Regions from separate parts of the Homo sapiens genome. Here region 1 is linked to region 2. The links are contacts of gene promoters, found by promoter capture Hi-C in human tissues and cell types (Jung and others, 2019). All regions are on one chromosome and are shown on one strand. Each heading gives the region's core, a stretch centred on a gene start or on the middle of the fragment in contact. The rest is flanking DNA. Distances are from core to core; before and after follow the strand shown.

Evidence for each region. The method cuts DNA at HindIII sites, captures the fragments that hold promoters and counts their contacts. A contact is called where the count stands out against the background at its distance.
Region 1: a fragment that was not itself captured here is called in contact with the fragment with the promoter of PBOV1 in region 2 in 1 of the 25 tissues and cell types used here (hippocampus).

What each region holds. Positions count from the first base shown.
Region 1 is chr6:138,155,222-138,160,593 of GRCh38, forward strand. No RefSeq gene overlaps it. Among named protein-coding and RNA genes, the nearest start is that of ARFGEF3, 4.0 kb to the right of the region's middle. The HindIII fragment of the contact is 5,876 bases long and covers 1-5,372 here.
Region 2 is chr6:138,216,387-138,221,511 of GRCh38, forward strand. PBOV1 (prostate and breast cancer overexpressed 1) reads right to left here and starts at 2,105. Exons shown (of 1, transcript NM_021635.3): 1 at 1-2,105. The coding sequence starts at 2,009. The coding sequence ends at 1,602. All of the region lies in intron 4 of ARFGEF3 (ARFGEF family member 3), which reads left to right. The HindIII fragment of the contact is 10,102 bases long and covers 1-5,125 here.

The DNA of each region.
Region 1 (5,372 bases), core at 1,226-3,725, 61 kb before region 2:
TCAGCTTTCTATCTTCATGCCCCACTCATATCCGTAAATTGGCCTTCATCCCCTAACTGGGCAATGACTCTGTCTATACTCTAGGTACCCTCTTTCCCATCTTCTTAGCATACTTGTTTCCCCCATTAGGCTGGCATCCTCCTGCCTTTTTTCAACCCTGCTTTTATGTCTTTTTTTCTTTCACTGTATAAATATACTCCCCACCACTAGGCTGTTTAATCACAAATTTTCCTCTGGTCTGGTGTTTTCCAAATTTCATGCTTCTCCCCATGAGTGGGTTGTGAAATTAATGAGTCTGTTTCATAAAAATATATTAAGAAATGAATTAGTATGGAACCTACAATATCAGAATGCAACACGTATATTCCTAGCAGGAGGTGTCCACATTGCCACAAATCCTGCAGACAACTGAGTTGAGTGACAGCTGGAGAATGAGAGGTAATGAATATATGCATTGGCTGGGAACTGCCAGCCAGTCACTCTTCTGCTCACTGGTGTCTCAGCTGATTTTTTGGAATTGATCATAATTGTATCAGGAGAGTTCATGTTTTATAGTTTCATTTTATGTCAATGTAATTTATAGCTAATTATAAAGTGAGGTTTAGAAGAACTTTATCTAGTCTTGGCAAAGGCAGGAAGACTTTCCACCAAGGTTTGGCTATGAGTTAGAAGATTTCAGTGTGCTTTTTGAATTAGGCATAACTGTCAGGCATTTTTCAACCTTGTGATAATTGTACATTTTAATCAAAGTTATACCAACTATCCTTAACACAGTTTATTTTATTATTAGAAGAAATAAAAACAGTCGTGTGAAAAACACAGAGGCATGTTCTGGCAGAACTACCAGATTTGGACATGTACATAGTGACAACATTAAGAAAAATGTCTTTTTAAATTAATAAATTCTATTATTTGAACTATAAGCCAAAGAAGTGCAAATCATTTTAATAATGATAAAGTATAGCTTGTCGATTACTCAAAACTCACTGAAAATGTATTATTTGTAATGACATTCTTGTAAATAAAAGCTTAAGATCTTCCAAAAAAATCACTTGAAATATAGCAAGCCAAATTTGTTCATAAGGCCTTCAAATATTTTCAAAGAAAAAAAGATGTAAATTTGTCAACATGATTTCACATTGGTTTTAATGAAAAAGCATTACTATCATAATTAGTCACATGTATGCAGCAAAAGGAAAAAAATTAAACAGCTCCTAAAAAAGTTGTTCTCAGCATACATGGTTATAGTGAATATGATTCTTGATAAATCAGCAGAGAAATTTAAAATTATACTTCTAAGTCATATTATAGTTCTAAAGAATATACAGAATAGAATTTATACTTATTAGGCACATACAGGCAGACACAGGTTGTATAATTCCACTTAATGAGAACACTAATATTTCACATTACTTAGACTTTAGTTTATGCCAAATATGTATGAAAATATGATTTTTATAAAGGATTTATTGTGTTGTTTCCATTTAACCTAACACAAAACTACTTGAGAAACATAAGTTCAACTGGAAAATTGTAACGGAATTGTGAGTGATTCAGAAGTAAATACGACCAGGAGACATGGAAAGATAATTTAAAATATTGTTAGAAGCTACTCTGTACATTATTTAAAATCTGTGTTTTATACATTACAAAGATTTTGCATCCTAACAATTGCACTAAATCTTTTGGACTTGAAAACAAAAGTAACGATAGTTGTTTAATTTTATTAAGGGAACCTTCAATTTTTGATATGTTTTGTTCAGAAATTGGATCTGTGGCTAATGATTCCCCTCCCTATGCCATAGGAAGAGAGCTGTGATTACTCAGGTATATCTCTGCAACTCTGTCTTCACCAATGCAATATATGAGATTTGTGTAACTTCTGCCTCTGAGGCATGGACTCCTCTACTCTCTTTTCCTCTTCCTATGGGCTAGAACACAATGTGCCTGGTACATATCTTTGAGACACACAAATGAGAACAACCCCCTATGGGATGAGGAAACAGTAACATTTAAGGTATATGGTCACTTAATCTCCTGGGACCTGCTGCACCAACCTCAACCACTGACTCAGGGTTTAATTGAAGAGAGAAGTAAGTGTCTATGCTTTGTAAACCACTGTATTGTTGGGTCTTTGTTAAAACAACTTAGCCTTTCCATCAAATAACATGTACATGTTGCATCGTACTGAAGTTATTGATTGTTACGAGGAAAGTACTCATTAAATTATATGAACTCAGGAACAGGATTCATATTTTCCTATTTGAAAAGCAATCTCATTTGGCATTTTGAAGATGATATTTCACCAGAAGAATCTGCATATAGGACTAATTTTTTTGACATTTTAAACTAACTGAATTTGGATCTACAGGGAAAAAGTAACAATATATTTCAAGATGTTTAATATATCCAACACTAACCAATACATTTTAAGTAATCACTGTGGTTACTATGTGTGCACAATTTTGTAACACATAAAGAGAAAATTAATGAAGACATTTTGAATAGAAAAATGATATTAGTTATATTACGTCTCTGTTATAAACTTTAATAATTTCAAAAAGAGAAATTTGAAATATTGAGGAAAAAATTGATAAAAGATCTGTTTTCCAAAATCCTGAATCCATATTAAAGTTGATACTCAAAGAAGAAAGCTAATCTCTAATACTTTAATACATTGAAGAATGATTATAAGTTTATAGCCATTTTAGATTAAGATTAAAGAAGACTTTCCATTGCTAAACAGAGTTCACTGTTGTTATTAATAGCATTCACAGCAACTTATTTGTGTGAGCCAGAATTTTTAAGCAACAAAACTAAAAACATTGGAAAGAAATAGGCATCACAGAGCAAACCACTGTGATTGTCCTCATGCCCGCAACCCAGAATGAATTTAGGAACAGGCAAGTATGCCTGCTGCAGTGAATGAAATCATGCTTAGTAGTAACTATTCTAGTTAACAGTATGTACTGTTTTATACCTAAAACTGTTGTTTCAGTTTTTTAACATATCTATACATGTATGTAAACACTGGATGATAATGTAAAGCATATTTTCTACTGTGAGTTATAGAAAAAAAGTAGAAAGGTGTTTACTTTCCTTCATAGCCATCCACTGGGTTGTTTATCCGTGTGATTTCACCAGCTCTTAATCCACTGCAACCAGGCTGCAGTCATCATTTCTCCCGGGTCTGGCTTCCACGGGATCCTAACTCTCTCACATTCATTACATCATTTTCTGTGTTTATCTTTGTCCTTTCTCTGGATGTTGACCTTGTTGCCTGGATACTACTTTTATTTCATTTTTGTGCCACTTTTTTTTTTAGAATAACACTTCTGATTATAAAAGTAAAAATATTTAATGAAAAATAAACTCACCTATAAGCCCATCAAAGATAATCACTTAATATTTTGTATGTACTTTTGATAGATATGTATGTACATATATGCATGTATTTTTGAACTTATATATACATCTACATCAAATATTTAAATAAAATTGGAATCATGTAGTATACAAAAGTACATAGCATTTTACAATTTGCTTACTTAAGTATATAGTATAAGCCACTTTTCTTTTTTTTTTTCTTTCTCTGTCTTTTTTTTTTTTTTTTTTTTTTTTTTTTTTTTTTTGAGACAGTGTCTTGCTCTGTCGCCCAGGCTGGAGCGCAGTGGCGAGATCTCAGCTCACTGCAACCTCTGCCTCAGGGTTCAAGCACTTCTTGTGCCTCAGCCTCTTGAGTAGCTGGGATTACAGGCATGTGCCACCACACCCGGCTAATTTTTGTATTTTTAGTAGAGGCAGGGGGGTTCTCACCATGTTGGCCAGGCTGGTCTCCAACTCCTGACCTCAGGCGATCCACCTGCCTTGGCATCTCAAAGTGCTGGGATTACAGGTGTGAGCCACTGCCCCCGACACCACTTTTCATATTATTCAATATTTCTCTCCCACATTATTCTTTTTAAATTAAAAACAATTTTTTTTTTTAGTAGAGATGAGGTCTTGCCATGTTGCCCAGGCTGCTCTCAAACTCCTCGGCTGAACCAATCTGCCTGCCTCAGCCTCCGAAAGTGCTGGGATTACAGGCATGAGCCAACATGCCTAGTCCCCCACATTATTCTCAAAGGCTATATAATATGATGCTTTATGAATATATCATGGGTTATCTATCCATATCCTTGTTGCATATTTAGTTTTCTCTTTTTTTAGAATTGAAAGACACACTGAAATGCTTGTAGAAAGATCCTTATCCATTTCCATAATCACTTTCTTAGGATGAATTCCCAGAAGTGGAATTGTTAGGTCAAAGCTATACCTATGCCACATACACATCCAGGCTCCCTCCCTCCAGGAATGTAGTACCAAGTTACACTCTGACCAGCACCCAAGACATGAGAGGACCTTGTTGTTCAGCTCCTTCAATAACATTTAAAAAATCTCTCAGTCAATTTGATTAATAGAAAATAGCATCTTATTTAAAAGTTTGTTCTCTTTATTAGGCACTTGAACATTTTTTATAAGTTTATGGGGTCATATGTATTCTCTCCTCTGTAAACTGACTTTATATATATTGGCTTTTTTAAAAAAGAAGGAGCATTTGTTTTTTAATTCTTTGTTAAAGCTTTTTTTTTTTAACAAAGCTATTCAAACTTTATATGTCTGACATTAATATAAACATTTTCCTAGTTTGCAGCTTAAACGAAATTGTTTTTAATTGTAAAACTAGTAAATACTTTAAAATAGATTCAAAAATATAAATCCACATATAATTAAGATTTAGAGGTATCATCTTTTCTTCCTTCAATCCATCCCTCAGAGTATCATTTGCTTTTTAATTTTGTATGAAACTTTTGGCATAAAGGTCTTAAATATTCAAATAGTCAAATCTATTGACCTTTTTTCCTTCAGTTTCTGCCTTAGTTTGTTAGAAATAATCTTAATGCATTAAGATAAGTATATTCACTTATGCTTTCTTCTAAACTTTTCATCATTTAATTCTTAAATTTAATTTTTAATACATTTGTAATTTATTTTGCTACACGATATAAAGTTGTGATCTATATATTTTTCCAAATAGTTAACAATTTTCTTTAACCCAAGTACATTATCTGCTGCGGCGTTTTTACTTTTTTTTTTTTAAACCTTTCTTTAAATGATGGCTTCACTGGGCGTGAGGGTAGCGGTAGAAGCATCCTTGGGGGCTGGGACTTTGTAGGTTTTGCCTCCTCAGTACCAAGAGCGCCGAAGGAGTAGTCTGACATCCCCATGTGTTGGACACCCTCCAATGGCAGTCCCTCCCCTGGCTGACCCCCTACACCTCGGATTTCGGACTGCTCCTCTCAGCCTCCTCCCTGGGCCCTTGCTCCTGTACC
Region 2 (5,125 bases), core at 855-3,354:
TCCAATTAGAGTTCTGGTATTACAAAGTGGAAGGGAGTGTGCTTTTAAATTATGTATCAGTACTGTCGTCAGTGCCTTGGTCTGGGAGCAAGAAACACGACAAAGGAAGAAAGACTGTTTGAGTCCCCTCTCGGTAATGTTTTAATGGCAGAGTCTTACACTTGGGAAGTTTCTTCAGATGGTTAGTTTTGATGTTCTTAACTCGGGGCATTTGGTCTTCTAGAGTTCCTTTTGGAAAGAATGTGATCATTAGTGAAGTTTGAGAGTGAAATGGCTAATTTGTCTTGCTGCTTATAACAGGGAGAAATCTCTTCTTAGCCTGAAGCCATTGAGACCCTTCAGAAGATTTGTAGCAATCTCTAGCGTTAAGGAAAAATCCAATGTTTGATGAAAAATATTTAACTCCTGAATGTGTCGTTGTTGGAGGTTGATCTAACAAGTTTGCAAACATATTGTTTGTGCAGTTAATGCAGGGAAGTGTCTAAAATATGTGGTTCTGCTAAGTAAATGGTTCTCAAACAGCCTTCCCTCTTCCTGCTCATAAGGTTGAGTGATGAGAATCTTTTTCTACTTTGCAAACAGACTAATATAATTCTTACTGAGTTTTCCTCCCATCTTTCTTTACCCTTTGATATGACTGCCTTCAGCAGATGGTAAAAATATATGAAAAAGTAATGAACAAACATTGAAAGCCTGGAGATGTGATTTTCCTTTAAATAGTTTATGCATTATTTTTGAGATGGAGATTTTCATATTATCTATTAATATCTTTTTAAAGCACCACCATTTCCAAGTGTTTACTATATTTCAAAATCACTCTACTAAGTGTCTTTAAACTTTTCTCACATAATCTTAATTTAAGCGCATATAAATGCAGAGGCCCTCATCACTTACTCTGGATGTTCTATAGATCCAAACAGAATGGGAAAGTTCTCTGATTTTTTAATCATTTATTCAGCAAATATTTGATTGTTTTCTATGTGTCAGGCACTGTGCTGGGCACAGAAGATCCCATAGTGAAGAAAACAAAACCAAAGAAAAACACAATCTGTGTTTGGAGGCCAATGATAGAGTCAGAAATCAATTAAATATATAAATACACTAGTCCCCACTTATCCAAAGTTTCACTTTCCTTGGTTTCCATTACACATTGTAATGTCTCCTCAACTCTTGACTCAGGCATGACTTGAACATTTCACTAGTTACTAAGCGAAAATTAGTGGTATACTATAAGTATTGTTTTTATCCCTCTGGTGCCTAGCGGAGCATCTGGCACATGGCTTACTAATTGCTCGTTAGTTTAGTTATTGACTAATGGAGAGACAGAAACACATGTGGTAGTTTTTAATGGCCCACTAGGATAAATAACAAACTAAATTGAGATAATAGATAATAATCTATGAGTTCAAGATTGAGAAAGATCAACATGGGTTTGTATTTTAGAATTGAAATAACCTCCTACATCATCAAATTCTTTTCATAAGTAAATTGAAGTTGGAATGGTTCAGTTACTTGGCTGGGCTTAAACAGTCATTGGTAGCAGAATTGCCTTTTCAACCATTTTTATTTTTCTGGAAAGGCTTTGCAGCAGGGCTGAGAGTTTATATGATCTGTGGATGTATAGTTTTGGATAAGTAGAGAAGACAGCATTCCAGACCTAGGGTCTGAGTTAACTGCAAAGTCAATGTGAATAATATGGCTTCTGAAGATAATGAGGAACATTTCATTGAGGAACCTTTCATGGTCAAGTGTGTCTGCAAGGGTGTGAGAATTGCATGGTGTGACTGTTCTATGGAATAATCAATGAACTCTGTTGCCTTTTGACTTCTTTTTACTTTTTCTTTTTTTCGAAATACCTTGTAGCAGAATGGTAAGAGCACAGTTTCTGGAGCTAGAATGCCTGGTAGCCTTGGGAAGTTACTTAATCTGTGCCTCAATTTTCTGATCTGTAAAATGTGAATAATATTGTGCATATCCTCATATTTCTGGTTCCTTAAGAAGGCCCTCATATTTACTACTGTAAATTGAATTGTAGCTCTGTAGCATAGAAGAATAATTTTGTAAATTATTATACATCAATTAGCCACCTCGATATATTTAAGGTCCTAACCATCAGCCATGATTCCACAATCTAAGGAAAACACCCACTCTTTAGCTGAGCCAATGTTTCTGTTCCATCCTACGAGGTAGAGTTTTATGATTTGATTATTCCAGAAGAGCTCTGTAATTATTGTTTCAGATGTAGAGAATCAGGTTGGCTGTAGCCCTTTAACAACCCTATCTTGAGGAGCTTGCTTGGTCAGGTCTATAAGTATAAACAATAAAACTATCAAAAGTTCTGTGTTTGTATGGGCAGAGACAATTTGAGATGAGGCTCTCATTCTGCAGAGAGTCTGAGAGGGAAAGAGAAAAGGAAGGAGTGAGGGTGTTATCTGGGGCATACCAATGAAATTTGACTTCTTAAAAACCCAGCTGTGAGATTAAGTCAAAATCTGCTTGTTACAGATTAAACTTGAAAAAATAAGTCGTGGAACTTTTAAATTTGTTGCTTTTTTAGACCTTTTTTTATTGATTTATTAAGGAAATATATTTTTGTTGCCAACAGTGCATAAAACTATATAGGATTAAAAACAAAATATTCAAAGGCAAGGGTTTATAATTCAGTAGGAAAGCAATAAAGAGGCAGCCAATTACCACAATTCAAGGTAGCTGTGTATGTTTAATCAGGAGAAGAGTTCAGGAGGCACATTCAGGAGGAAGAAGCATGTTTAGCAGGGCAGAACATCCTTTTAAGGAGGGGATACTATTTGAGTTGGACTTTGAAAGGTAGGTGGGATTCAGATAATTATGTTGGGAGAGAGGGCATTCTTGGTAGAGAAAAAAAGTCCTGGGGATGGAAACTGAGATTAGTGAGGGATAGTGGACGATGAGCCTGAAAGGGTGGTTGAAGAGGCTCTAGAGGGCCTGCTCTCTGTAAGCAGGCAAGTGATCCAGACAGAGCTGGGTGTTAAACATGGAAGGTGAGGAGGGGGAGGATGGGTTTGCAGGATGATTCAGGAATCAGCAGAACCAAGTCTTTGGCATCGTGAAATATCTTATTGGAAGAGGCTGAGCCAGAGGTACCAGGACTTAATCCAGGTAGGTGGCAGTAGGAAGGGGCCACCTGGGCTGAATGCAGAAAGGTGTGGCTGAGTGCACTGACCTGGTTTGCAGAATAAGGAGCAGCTGGTGACTGGCAGTGACATGGGCAGTGAGTAGGTAGGAGAGGGAAAGCCCAAGTTGCCTGCAGGACTCACAGCCAGAGTTTCTGGTTGAGTGATGGTCTTACGGGACTAATTTAAGAGATAGAGACTGAGTTCATATTATCAGGTCTCAATATTTATATTTAAATTTTGACATAGATGTGCGTGTGTGTGTGTGTGTGTGTAGAATATTTTAAAAGATGAATTTAAAGAAGTGCTAGTAGTTTAACATTATGGGCATTCCAAAAGAGAAAAAGTTAATTGTAAATCCCATCATGTTGACTGATTCTTGTATACTGATTTCTCATCATATCTACTTATGTGTTTATAGTTATATTCATTGTGTGTATAGGATTTTTTTTCTTTTATCTTCTCTTTTCTTTTCCTTTTCCTTTCTTTTTTTCTGCAGGGTTTCACTGTCACCCAGGCTAGAGCTCAGTGATGCAATCACGCAATCACAGCTCACTGCAGCCTTGACCTCCAGGTCTCAGGTGATCCTCCAACCTCAGCCTACTGGGTGCGCCACTATGCTCAACCAATTTTTGTATTTCTTTTGTAGAGACAAGGTTTTGCCATGTTTCCCAGGCTGGTCTCGAACTCCTGTGTTCAAACAATCTATCTGCCTTGGCCTCCCGAAGTGCTAGGATTATAGGTGTGAGCCACTGCAGCCAACCTATTTCTTGCTTTATACTTTAAATCATAAGCATTTTCCACATGGTTCTCTCTATATATCTATATATATGTAGTCCTTTAAGTACAGTTTTAATGTTAGCATAATTAAGAATTTTTTATTTTTATTTTTCTATTATTTCCATTGTATTTATTGCCAATACAGAATACTTCCTGTATGTTCTGGATGAAAGAGAAATCTGTAGGCTGCCCTAAGCAACTATCTGTAATTTATATCTTTACTTCTATGAGAAAATGCATCCTGCATTCTACTGAAATTTTAGGCTAGAGTCTATTTCTAAAACATGAACTACTTGTACAATGGAACAAAAAAATAAGTCTTTTCCACTCAACCTTTGGGTGCAAGTTCTAATACACTTGCTGGTCTTCATGTCTAATATACTTGCTAGAAGGACATCGACTCAGCCCTTCCACAGTAATTTCTTTTTCCCATCTTAATCACATATTATCATCCAGCAGTAATCAACACGTAACTGACCAATCCAGTTTGTTCTCCATAAGGGTTGGAATTAGTAGATCTCATCTTGACCAACTAAATTGCCTTGCCATATAAACACAGCTGAATCTCCTAGAATTCACTTGAAATAGTAAAGCAAGTTCATATTCTAAAATAAATATGGTTGAGACTATGCCTCATGTATCGGAAACCACCCCAAAATGCAGTAGGCAGTTCAGGCTGGGCTCGGCTGTCCTGTTCTTTTGCTGATCCCAGCTGTGCTTGCTCATACATCTTCGGTCAGTTGGTGGCTTGGCTGGGGCTGGCTGACTTACAATTGCTGCATCAGGTCCAGGTGGGAAGATTGGTACCTCTTTCTATAAGGTCTTTCATTTTCTAGCATGGCAGGTTATCTACATGGTGGCAGTGGCAGGGAAAATTGAGGAACTCAGAGGCCCCAAGTGTTTTGGGGGTTTGGTTTGTTTGCTTGCTGATGTCCCATTGGTCATTTCAAGCTAATGGTCACTCCACACCTCATATTTAAAAGGTGGGGAAATAGATTCTGTTTCTTGATGGGGATATCTACAGGGGTAATTAAGAATTTTAGAACAAGAAATGTTTAGCTGTTTACCATATTACAGCCTTAGTGAGGTTGATGTGATTTTCATGGAATTGAACAAAAGAAATTATTTGGTCTAATATGTCAATATTTATTTGTGATGTTTAGAAACTGAAATTAAGGATTACAACCTGGGGA